Linked DNA regions of Homo sapiens: all the other regions are linked to region 1. Evidence: promoter capture Hi-C in 16 types of primary human blood cells and fetal thymus (Javierre and others, 2016). All regions are on one chromosome and are shown on one strand. The core of a region is centred on a gene start or on the middle of the fragment in contact, and the rest is flanking DNA. Distances in the headings are between cores, read along the strand shown. Region 1 holds the start of CDK7 (cyclin dependent kinase 7). Region 2 overlaps CENPH (centromere protein H). Region 3 overlaps CCDC125 (coiled-coil domain containing 125).

Evidence for each region. Contacts are between HindIII fragments. The CHiCAGO score rates a contact against its expected background, and 5 or more counts as called.
Region 2: a fragment that was not itself captured here is called in contact with the fragment with the promoter of CDK7 in region 1 in 2 of 17 cell types (neutrophils and total CD4 T cells); the score reaches 5.3 in neutrophils.
Region 3: a fragment that was not itself captured here is called in contact with the fragment with the promoter of CDK7 in region 1 in 1 of 17 cell types (neutrophils); the score reaches 8.1 in neutrophils.

The regions. Positions count from the first base shown.
Region 1 is chr5:69,233,259-69,236,400 of GRCh38, reverse strand. CDK7 (cyclin dependent kinase 7) reads right to left here and starts at 1,515. Exons shown (of 12, transcript NM_001799.4): 1 at 1,360-1,515; 2 at 948-1,007. The coding sequence starts at 1,425. RefSeq lists an enhancer at 1,265-1,793. The HindIII fragment of the contact is 18,686 bases long and covers 1-2,086 here.
Region 2 is chr5:69,198,324-69,201,383 of GRCh38, reverse strand. All of the region lies in intron 5 of CENPH (centromere protein H), which reads right to left. Among named protein-coding and RNA genes, the nearest start is that of CENPH, 10 kb to the right of the region's middle. The HindIII fragment of the contact is 594 bases long and covers 1,073-1,666 here.
Region 3 is chr5:69,277,684-69,281,024 of GRCh38, reverse strand. CCDC125 (coiled-coil domain containing 125) reads left to right here. Exons shown (of 12, transcript NM_176816.5): 12 at 1-850. Among named protein-coding and RNA genes, the nearest start is that of CDK7, 44 kb to the right of the region's middle. The HindIII fragment of the contact is 7,449 bases long and covers 1-3,341 here.

The DNA of each region.
Region 1 (3,142 bases), core at 266-2,765:
TGTGATCTTGACAAGTCACCTAGTCACTCAGTCTCAGGTACCTCAAGTATAAAATAGGGTTACTTTTAACCACTTTATAGATTGTTTTGAAGGTTAAAAGAAACAATGTAGGTGAACGTGAGTTATGTAATTATGACCCAAATCTTTTTTTTTTTTTTTTTAAGATGGAGTCTCCCTCTGTCACCAGGCTGGAGCACAGTGGCACCATCTCGGCTCATTACAACCTCCACCTCCCAGGTTCAAGTGATTCTCCTGCCTCAGCCTCCCGAGTAGCTGGGATTACAGACAGGTGCCACCACACCCAGCTAATATTTGTATTTTTAGTAGAGACAGGGTTTCACCATGTTGGCCAGGATGGTCTGGATCTCTTGACCCCAAGTGATCCGCCCACCTCGGCCTCCCAAAGTGCTGGGATTACAGGCGTGAGCCACCGCGGCTGGCCCGACCCAAGTCTTTTGAATGAATATAAGAAGCTACTGAATCCGACCCAGGTCTTTTGAATGAATATAAGAAGCTACTGAACTCATTTTAGACCTCACATCAATGTTGTTCATGCTAGTGAAAGTCTTTCATGGTAAATCCGTACACAGAAAATACAGATACGACACACTGAGTGGATGCAGGTGAGGTATAAACAGTGACCTAGAAAGATCATGGTATCCAATAGTTCTGAGGACCGAAAAGATGGGCAGTACTTGCCCACAACATATGAATTTATGCAGTAAAAATAACATACAGCTTCTTCTTCATTTCAATAGAAATTAAAACGGGTTCAACCCTAGAGTTCCGTTTGGGAACACAAAGCACTAATTAATTATTTTGTCTCTGAAAATGACATGAGTAACTCATTATCAGAGTATGGTCAAGACTAATAAAATGGCTATCAGTCAATTAATAATACAGACATCTTCAAGGAGACTTAAAAACAACATAAAAAGGTAACTCACTTTCTTAATGGCGACAATTTGGTTGGTGTTCTTATCTCTGGCCTTGTAAACGGTGGCAAACTAGAAAGAAAAATAGAAATAACATAAGTTTATGGGAGTTTTTGTGTTTGCCTTTTTGCATTTTTACATTTCGCGAAGCAAAGAGCCCAGAGTTCCTGAGCAGACTCGCGGCGGCTGGAAACGTGGCGGGTCAGTCTCCGTCCAGCTCCAGGCTACTCTTCAGCAAGGAGAGGCCCCTCAGGGATTCACCCCCAGGATGTAAAGAATGGGCAGCAAGTGCGTCTGGACGGTTTCCCCCAACGAGAACGAGCAGCCAAGCCAGACCTCTGGCCTCCACGGGAAAACCCGCAAAGGTGGAGGCGGCGCGGGGCTGTCCGCTTGGGGCCCTCCCCGTCCTTCCAGAGAGCCTCACCTGTCCCTCCCCAAGGAAGTCCAGCTTCTCATAACGCTTTGCCCGAGACTTCACGTCCAGAGCCATCCGGCGCCGTAAAGCCCGACTCCAGCCGAAAAGGGCGAGCTCCCAGGACAACACGAATTTAAAGCTACCTTAAAGCCTCCAACACCCACTTCCGTCCACCGGGCTCCGTCGCTTTAGTATCCCCGCCTCACTTCCGTGGTGGGCGGAGGAAGCTGCGCTAGGCCCAGGCGGTTGGCGTTCCCCACCCGTCACGTGACGCCTGTCGGTGCCTGAAGTGGGGCATCTTCAATGGCTGCTGTGTCACTCTGTTGCCGTTTTAACTTGGGTGTTTTCTACATTACCAGGAACTGGTCAGCGTTCTAATTTGGTGTTCCATGTTCGGGGTTTGGTAGGTGTCTGTGAATGTAGAAAGTTTGGCCTTGTACCTGTTCTCGCTTTTTGGTTCTTGCTCGAGCGCGTCCTGTCGCCGTGGTTGCTATGGACGCCAAACCCTGCTATCTCAGATTACTGAGACGAGTGCCAAGTTCTTACGGGCTGGTCAAGAGTATTCTTAGTCCAGTCCCTTTATGAAGAAGCAGGCCCAGGAAAACAAAATCCAACTCAACTGAAACGTGCTGTGGGAATCAGCTTCTAGTCCTCAGTTTTCTACTCGGTAAAATGGAAAAAATAATGAACTACATCACAGGAGATTGTGGGTATTAAATGAAACATGCAGAAAGCTTAGACATTAACTCAATTAATTGAGACAGTGCTCAATTAACTTAGCAGTAATGAGTACCCAACCCCTTGATTATCATAAATTGTCATAACAAACACACTAATTCATTTATTCAAAAACATATTGAGTGCTTTTCCTTTTTCATTTTTCTCTCTCTTAGGATGCTGATATTGAGTGTTATCTATGTGCCAAGCACCATTGTAGAATCTGAGATAGCAGGGAGCAAAGATCCCTGCCTTCCAATGGGAGGAGATAAAAAAACAAGTCAAATATGTGTTATGATACATAGGTGATAAGTGCTATAGAGATAATAAAGCAGATAAAGGATAACAAATCAGGGCAGGGGCAGGGATGGAGGTTTTAAATAGGGTGGTACAAGAAAGTCATCACTGAAAACCCACTGGAGGGATTGGAGCAGACAAGTGATATGACCTGACTCACTTTTAAAAGGTTCACTCTTGCTGTTGGGAGACTATATTATAGATTTTGAGGGACAAGAAAAAGAAAGAAGGCCTATTAGAGAACTATTGCAGTAATCCAGATGGCTCTACTAGTGGATAATTAAAAGTTTCTGAGCCAGAGCAGCTGTCAACATGGAAATGTGCCCCCCTCCCCCTGCCTTTGTTTGTTTGTTTGTTTTTGAGACAGTCTCACTCTGTTGCTCAGGCTGGAGTACGCTGGCCCGATCTGAGCTCACTGCAACCTCTGCCTCCTGGGTTCAAGCGATTCTCCTGCCTCAGCTTCCCGATTAGCTGGGATTACTGGCCTGCTCCACCACACCCAGCTAATTTTTGTATTTTTAGTAGAGACGGGGTTTCACCTTGTTGGCCAGGCTGGTCTCAATCTCCTGACCTCAGGTGATCCACCCTCCTCGGCCTCCCAAAGTGCTGGTATTTGTAAGTGTAAGCCACTGCGCCCAGCCTATATTTGTTATTTCTAAGAGTTGAAAATCCTAAGTTTCAGAGATATGTTGAAGAAAGTAGCAAAATACCAAGGCCAATAATTTAGTTATTTTTTTTAACTCTGGAATCAGACTGCTTGCATTTGAATAGTGGCCCT
Region 2 (3,060 bases), core at 120-2,619, 35 kb after region 1:
AGGAAAGAATCTAGTGGAGAAAAATAAATCCACAATCATACTATAGCGCAGTAACAAATATGAACCAGAGTTATGCACAGGGTGGAATAAGGATATGAAGTAATTGCCTAGATCAAGTAGTTTGGTATGGCTGGAGCAAAACAGTATGGAATAAGACTGCGCAGAGCAGTGGCTCTCATACTTCAGAGTGCCACAGTCATCTGGGAGGTTCGTTAAGTAAGGATTCCTAGTTCCTGACCTTCAGATATGCTGATTCGGGGCCTGGTTCAGTGGCTCATGCCTGTAATCCCAGCACTTTTGGAGGCTGAGGCAGGAGGATTGCTTGAGCTCAGGAGTTTTGAGACCTGGGCAATATAGCAAGACCACATCTCTATTTAAAAAAAAAAAAAAGGTCAGGTACAGTGGATCCCTTGAAGTCAGAAGCTCGAGACTAGCCTGGCCAACATGGCAAAACCCCATCTCTACTAAAAATACAAAAATTAGCCAGGTGTGATGGTGTGTGTCTGTAATCCCAGCTACTCAGGAGGCCGAGGCAGGAGAATCGCTTGAACCTGGAGGCAGAGGTTGCAGTGAGCCAAGCAGATCGTGCCACTGCACTCCAGCCTGGGTGACAGAGCAAGATTCCGTCTCAAAAAAAAAAAAAAAAAAAAAAAAAAAAAAAAAAGATACGCTGATTCAGAAAGTTTGGGATAGGACCAACAATGTGATCACTATAATAGACATTATTCTGATAATCAGCCAGGTGTGAAAAACACTGTAGAAGCAACTAACTGAGAAGGTCAAAAGGGGAATATGCACAAACCTGGGAGAGCTGAACTCATTTTTCTACTATTTACAGCTATATTTGGTTGTCTTAAAAGATAAATTTAGGCATATTAAAATCTAACAAGTTTATTTGAGAAGACAATTCATGCATCTGGCAGCACAGGATTATAAGCTGTTAAGTGCTCTACTGTGGGAGTTGAGTGAGGAAGCTTTTATAAGGTGTTCATAGAAGACAAAATGTAATTGGTTGGTTAAAGTGGATCATCTCTAGTTAGAAGTTAGTTGGCAGTTTCTCATTGGGTAAGCTTAAGTTCCATTTTACTGTTTACATCAGGCTTACATAGGAATCCCAAGGTGATGGAGCTCAAGGCTAAAGATGGTTCTGCCTAATGGCATTCCAGTTGCATCCCAATTAATTTTTTTTAACAGTTATAAACTTTAAAATGTGCTAATAAAACACTGCCTCAGCCTATTTGACCTTTCTGTTTTTTTTTTTTTTTTTTTTTGAGACAGAGTCTCACTCTGTTGCCCAGGCTGGAGTGTAGTGGCACAATCTCAGCTCACTGCAACCTTCGCCTCCTGGGTTCAAGCGATTTTCCTGCCTCAGCCTCCCGAGTAGCTGGGATTACAGGTACCTGCCACCACGCCCGGCTAATTTTTGCATTTTTAGTAGAGATAGGGTTTTACCATGTTGGCCAGGCTGGTCTTGAACTTCTGATCTCAGACGATCCGCCTGCCTCGGCCTCCCAAAGTGCTGGGATTACAGGCGTGAGCCACCGCACCGGCCTGACCCTTCTGTTTTTTGGTGTCAACAGTGAAACTGGCCCAATTGTCCCACAGAACTGATGTTTATGATTTCTTTTGAATAAACATAGAAACTGACCCTCCCAGTCTTAAAGCTTGAGAAAGTTACAACTGTCTTACCTGAGTTCCCTTCTCAGGAAACCATCAGGACTCCCAGATAGTATCAAGGAACTGAAACTTATAAGATCACACCCTCTAGACAATAAGACATCAGACCCCTCACCCATCATGATTGCCTAACCTGCTTCCTATTGACTAACTCCTCTTCCTTACCCCTCCCTAATTCCTGTCTTCCCATACATGGGTACATATCTTCCCTGCTATATAAACCCTTAATTTGGCAGGGTGTGGTGGTTCACACCTGTAATCTCAGCACTTTGGAAGGCCAACGCAGGTGGATCCCTTTGAGCTCAGCAGTTCGCGACCAGCCTGGGCAACATGGCAAAACCCCATCTCTACAAAAAATACAAAAATTAGCCAGGCACGGTGGTGGGCACCTGTAGTCCCAGCTACCTGGGAGGCTGAGGTGGATCACTTGAACCTGGGAGGTGAAGGTGGTAGTGAGCTAGGATCACGCCACTGCACTCCAGCCTGAGCAACAGAGTGAGGCCCTGTCTCAAAAAAACAAAACAAAACAAAACACCTCCTTAATTTTAGTCCATCTAGGAGATGAGACTGATCTCCCCTCTCTTTGGCTACAGTACTCAAAGCCTTCTTCCTGACAACACTCATGTCAGTGATTACATTTCTGTGCAGCAAGCAACAGGACCTAGACCAAAGCCCTGACATTTCAGTAACAATGTGATGAATCTGTCCTGCTCTCCTGCACCCCACACCTTTAACTCAAGAATGTCTTTTTTTTTTTTGTTTTTGAGATGGGGTCTTACTATTGCCCAGGCTAAGGTGCTGTGGCAAGATCACAGCTTACTGCAGCCCCATGACCTCCTAGAATCAAGGCAGGAGGCTGATCCTCTCCCCTCAGCCTCTGGAGTAGCAAGGACTACTGGTGGCTCCACCATGCCTGGCTAATTTTTAAAAATTTTTTGTAGAGATGAGGCCTCCCTATGTTGCCCAGGCTGATCTCAAATGCCTGGGCTCAAGCTATCCTCCTGCCTCAGGCTCCCAAAGTGCTGGGATTACAGGCATGAGCCTCTGTACCCAAGCTAAACTCTCCTTTTATGGGAGAGAAAAAGTTATGAGTGTTCAAATTCAGATTTTTGGATTTATGTAATCCTGGATTTAGCTGGAATATGGGAAAATGTGTAGCAGTGTGGGCTAAGATACTCAAGATAGAAGTGCCTAGGTCAGACCAGCCTGGCCAACATAGTGAAACCCCGTCTCTACTAAAAATACAAAAATTACCTGGGAGTTGTAGCAGGTGCCTGTAATCCCAGCTATTCAGGAGGCTGAGGCACGAGAATTGCTTGAACCGCAGAGATGGAGGTTGGAGTGAGCTGCACTCCAGTCTGAGTGACAGAGCAAGATTCCGTC
Region 3 (3,341 bases), core at 487-2,986, 44 kb before region 1:
AGTCCAGAGTTCAAGACCAGCCTGGGCAACATGGTGAAACCCCATCTATACAAAAACTCGGCAAGGCATGGTGGCATGCACCTGTTGTCCCAGCTACTCAGGGGCTGAGGCAGGAGGATGGCATGAGCCCAGGAGCTTGAGGCTGCAGTGAGCTGTGATTGTGCCACTGCACTCCAGCCTGAGTGACAGAGTGAGACCCCCATCTCCAAAAGAAAAGGCTATCAATACAAAAGTTTATCTAAATTACTGTACAGCTATACAATGGAATACTCTACAAAATGGAGAGATCCATAAGATAAAGCAAATGAATAAAGCAAAATGCATGTGTTGACAGCTGTTGTGATACCTCAGTTCTTGTCTTCTTGGTTTAAAAGAATTTAAATGAGACAGCAAAGGAGATGCAGCATAATTTATTGCAAAAGAAAAGGAGTATTTTGAAAGTTAGGTGCAGAACAGACAGTACACCTGAGAGAGAGAATTCAGGGCCGGCTGCTCGTAAGGGTGAGACAGCATTGATTATTGCTGGAGAAACTCCCTTTATGGGAGTTTTGCATTATTATTCATAAGGAGGTGAGGTGTTGCAGTAATCATGTCCTGGGTGGTCCTCTGCACAGGTGCAGTAGCTGTTAATGCTTGTTCATACACCACATGTCTCAGTAGCATCTTAAATTTCCACCTAGAGGTGTGTTTTTTATTATTATCATGTGCAAAGGATCAGTTTGAGGACAGGTAAAATCAAAATGTGTATGCTCTCTAGAAGGGAAAGTCCCTACTGAAGATAGCTTTGCTTAAATGAGCTCAATTACAATGTGAATGCTGAGGTTTATTGTGTTGGCTGTATGGTCATGAGAAAATGGTCATTTCCTTGACTACCTGATACGGTTTGGCTGTGTCCCCACCCAAGTCTTATTTTGAATTGTAATCCCCATAATTCCCACATGTTGAAGGAGGGACTTGGTGGTAGGTGACTGGATCATGGGGGTGGTATCCCCCATGCTGTTCTCATGATTGTGAGTTCTCACGAGATCCAATGGTTTTATACATGGTAGTCTCTCCTGCTGCCATGTAAAACATGCCTGCTTCCCCTTCTGCCAGGATTGTAAGTTTCCTGAGGCCTGCCCAGCCATGTGGAGCTATGAGTCAATTAAACCTCTTTCCTTTATAAATTACTGAGTCTTGGGTAGTATTCTTTATAGCAGTTTGAGAACGGAATAATACACTCCTATCCTGCCTCACGTGTTAGACACATTTTGAGTGTCCTCAGATCCCTTTGGCGCTATTATCTCCTGGACTCTTAGCTGCTTGGCTGCTTCTCCCTTGGCAGCTCCCTGTCTACACACACACACGAGGAAGTCAGACAGATTTGAAGCACGAGTGGGTTTGATGCACTGCTGCTGTCCTGTGGTGAGTGCCACAGGACAAAGGCATGGAAGTTTCCTTAAGAAGCTGAGAGAGGCCCTGGGCTAACAGTCAAAAGGGAAATGGGGGCAATGGAGCACAAGAATTGCAACTATAAGAACTGCATGAGCGGCCGGGCACGGTGGCTCACGCCTGTAATCCCAGCACTTTGGGAGGCCAAGGTGGGCGGATCACGAGGTCAGGAGATAGAGACCATCCTGGCTAACACAGTGAAACCCCGTCTCTACTAAAAATACAAAATATTAGCTGGGCGTGGTGGCGGGCACCTGTAGTCCCAGCTACTCGGGAGGCTGAGGCAGGAGAATGGGTGAACCCAGTGGGCGGAGGTTGCAGTGAGCCGAGATCGTGCCACTGCACTCCAGCCTGGGCGACAGAGCAAGACTCCATCTCCAAAAAAAAAAAAAAAACAAACCTGCATGAGCTTGGTAGCAGATTCTTTCCAGGGGCCTCCAAATAAAACTAGTTTGACTAACACCTTGATTTTGGCCTTGTGAGACCCTAAGCAGAAAACACAGCTGAGCCAGATATATGGCCTACAGAACTGTGAGCTAATACATTTGTGTTACTTTAATTAGCTGGGCATGGTGGTACACATTTGTAATCCCAGCTACTTGGGAGGCTAAGGTAGGAGGATCACCTGAACCCCAGGATGCAGAGGTTACAGTGAGCTGAGATTGCACCACTGCACTCCAGCCTGGGCAACAGAGCAAGACTCTGTCTCATTAAAAAAAAAAAAAAAATTAACCAGGCATGGTGGTATGCACCTGTAGTCCCAGCTACTGGGGACAGAGGTGGAAGGATGGCTTGAGCCCAGGAGTTCGAAGCTGCAGTGAGCCATGATTGCACTACTACACTCCAACCTGGGCAACAGAGACTATCTCACAAAAAAAAAAAAAAAAAAAGGAGAGAGAGATTCTATCAATTTATATACAATTTTGAGACCCAAAACAATGCTGTACATTGTTATGCATCTCACTACATGCACTCTTACAGAATACTAGCATAAAATCATGGAAAGATACACACCAATTTCATAGAGTCATTTCCCTCTGGGGAAAGTGAAAAGGAAAAAATAGAAATAAAGTGAAGTATTGGCTGGGCGCGGTGGCTCACACCTGTAATCCCAGCACTTTGGGAGGTCAAGGCAGGTGGATGAAAAGGTCAGGAGTTCGAGACCAGCCTGGCCAATATGGTGAAACCCCATCTCTACTAAAAATACAAAAAAAAAAAAAATTAGCCAGGCGTGGTGGCACATACCTGTAACCCCAGCTACTTGGGAGGCTGAGGCAGGAGAACTGCTTGAATCCAGGAGGTGGAGGTTGCAGTGAGCCAAGATCGCACCACTGCACTCCAGCCTGGGTGACAGAGCGAGACTCCATCTCAAAAAAAAATAAAATAAAGTGAATTTTTAAGAGGGAACCTCTGGCCAGGTGTAGTGGCTCATGCCTGTAATCCCAGCACTTTGGGAAGCCGAGGTGGGCAGATCACTTCAGGTCAGGAATTAGAGGCCAGCCTGGCCAACATGGTGAAATCCTGTCTCTACTAAAAATATAAAAAAAATTAGGCAGGTGTAGTGGTGCGTGCCCATAATCCCAGCTGCTCAGGAGGCTGAAGCAAGTGAATCACTTGAAGGCAGAGTTTGCAGTGAGCTGGGATTGTGCCCCTGCACTCCAACCTGAGTGACAGAGTGAGACTTTGTCCCCCGCCTCAGAAAAAAGGTTGGGGGGAATCTCAATTTTATCTGTAATGTTTTCTTTTTTTAGTACATTCCGTATATTAATATTTGTTAAGTTTGGGTAGTATTTACTACACCACTACTACATTTTTTTTTTTTTTGAGACTGTGTCTTGCCCTGTCACCCAGGCTGGAGTACAGTGGCGCCATCTTGGCTCACTGCAAGCTCTGCCTCCCGGGTTCTCGCC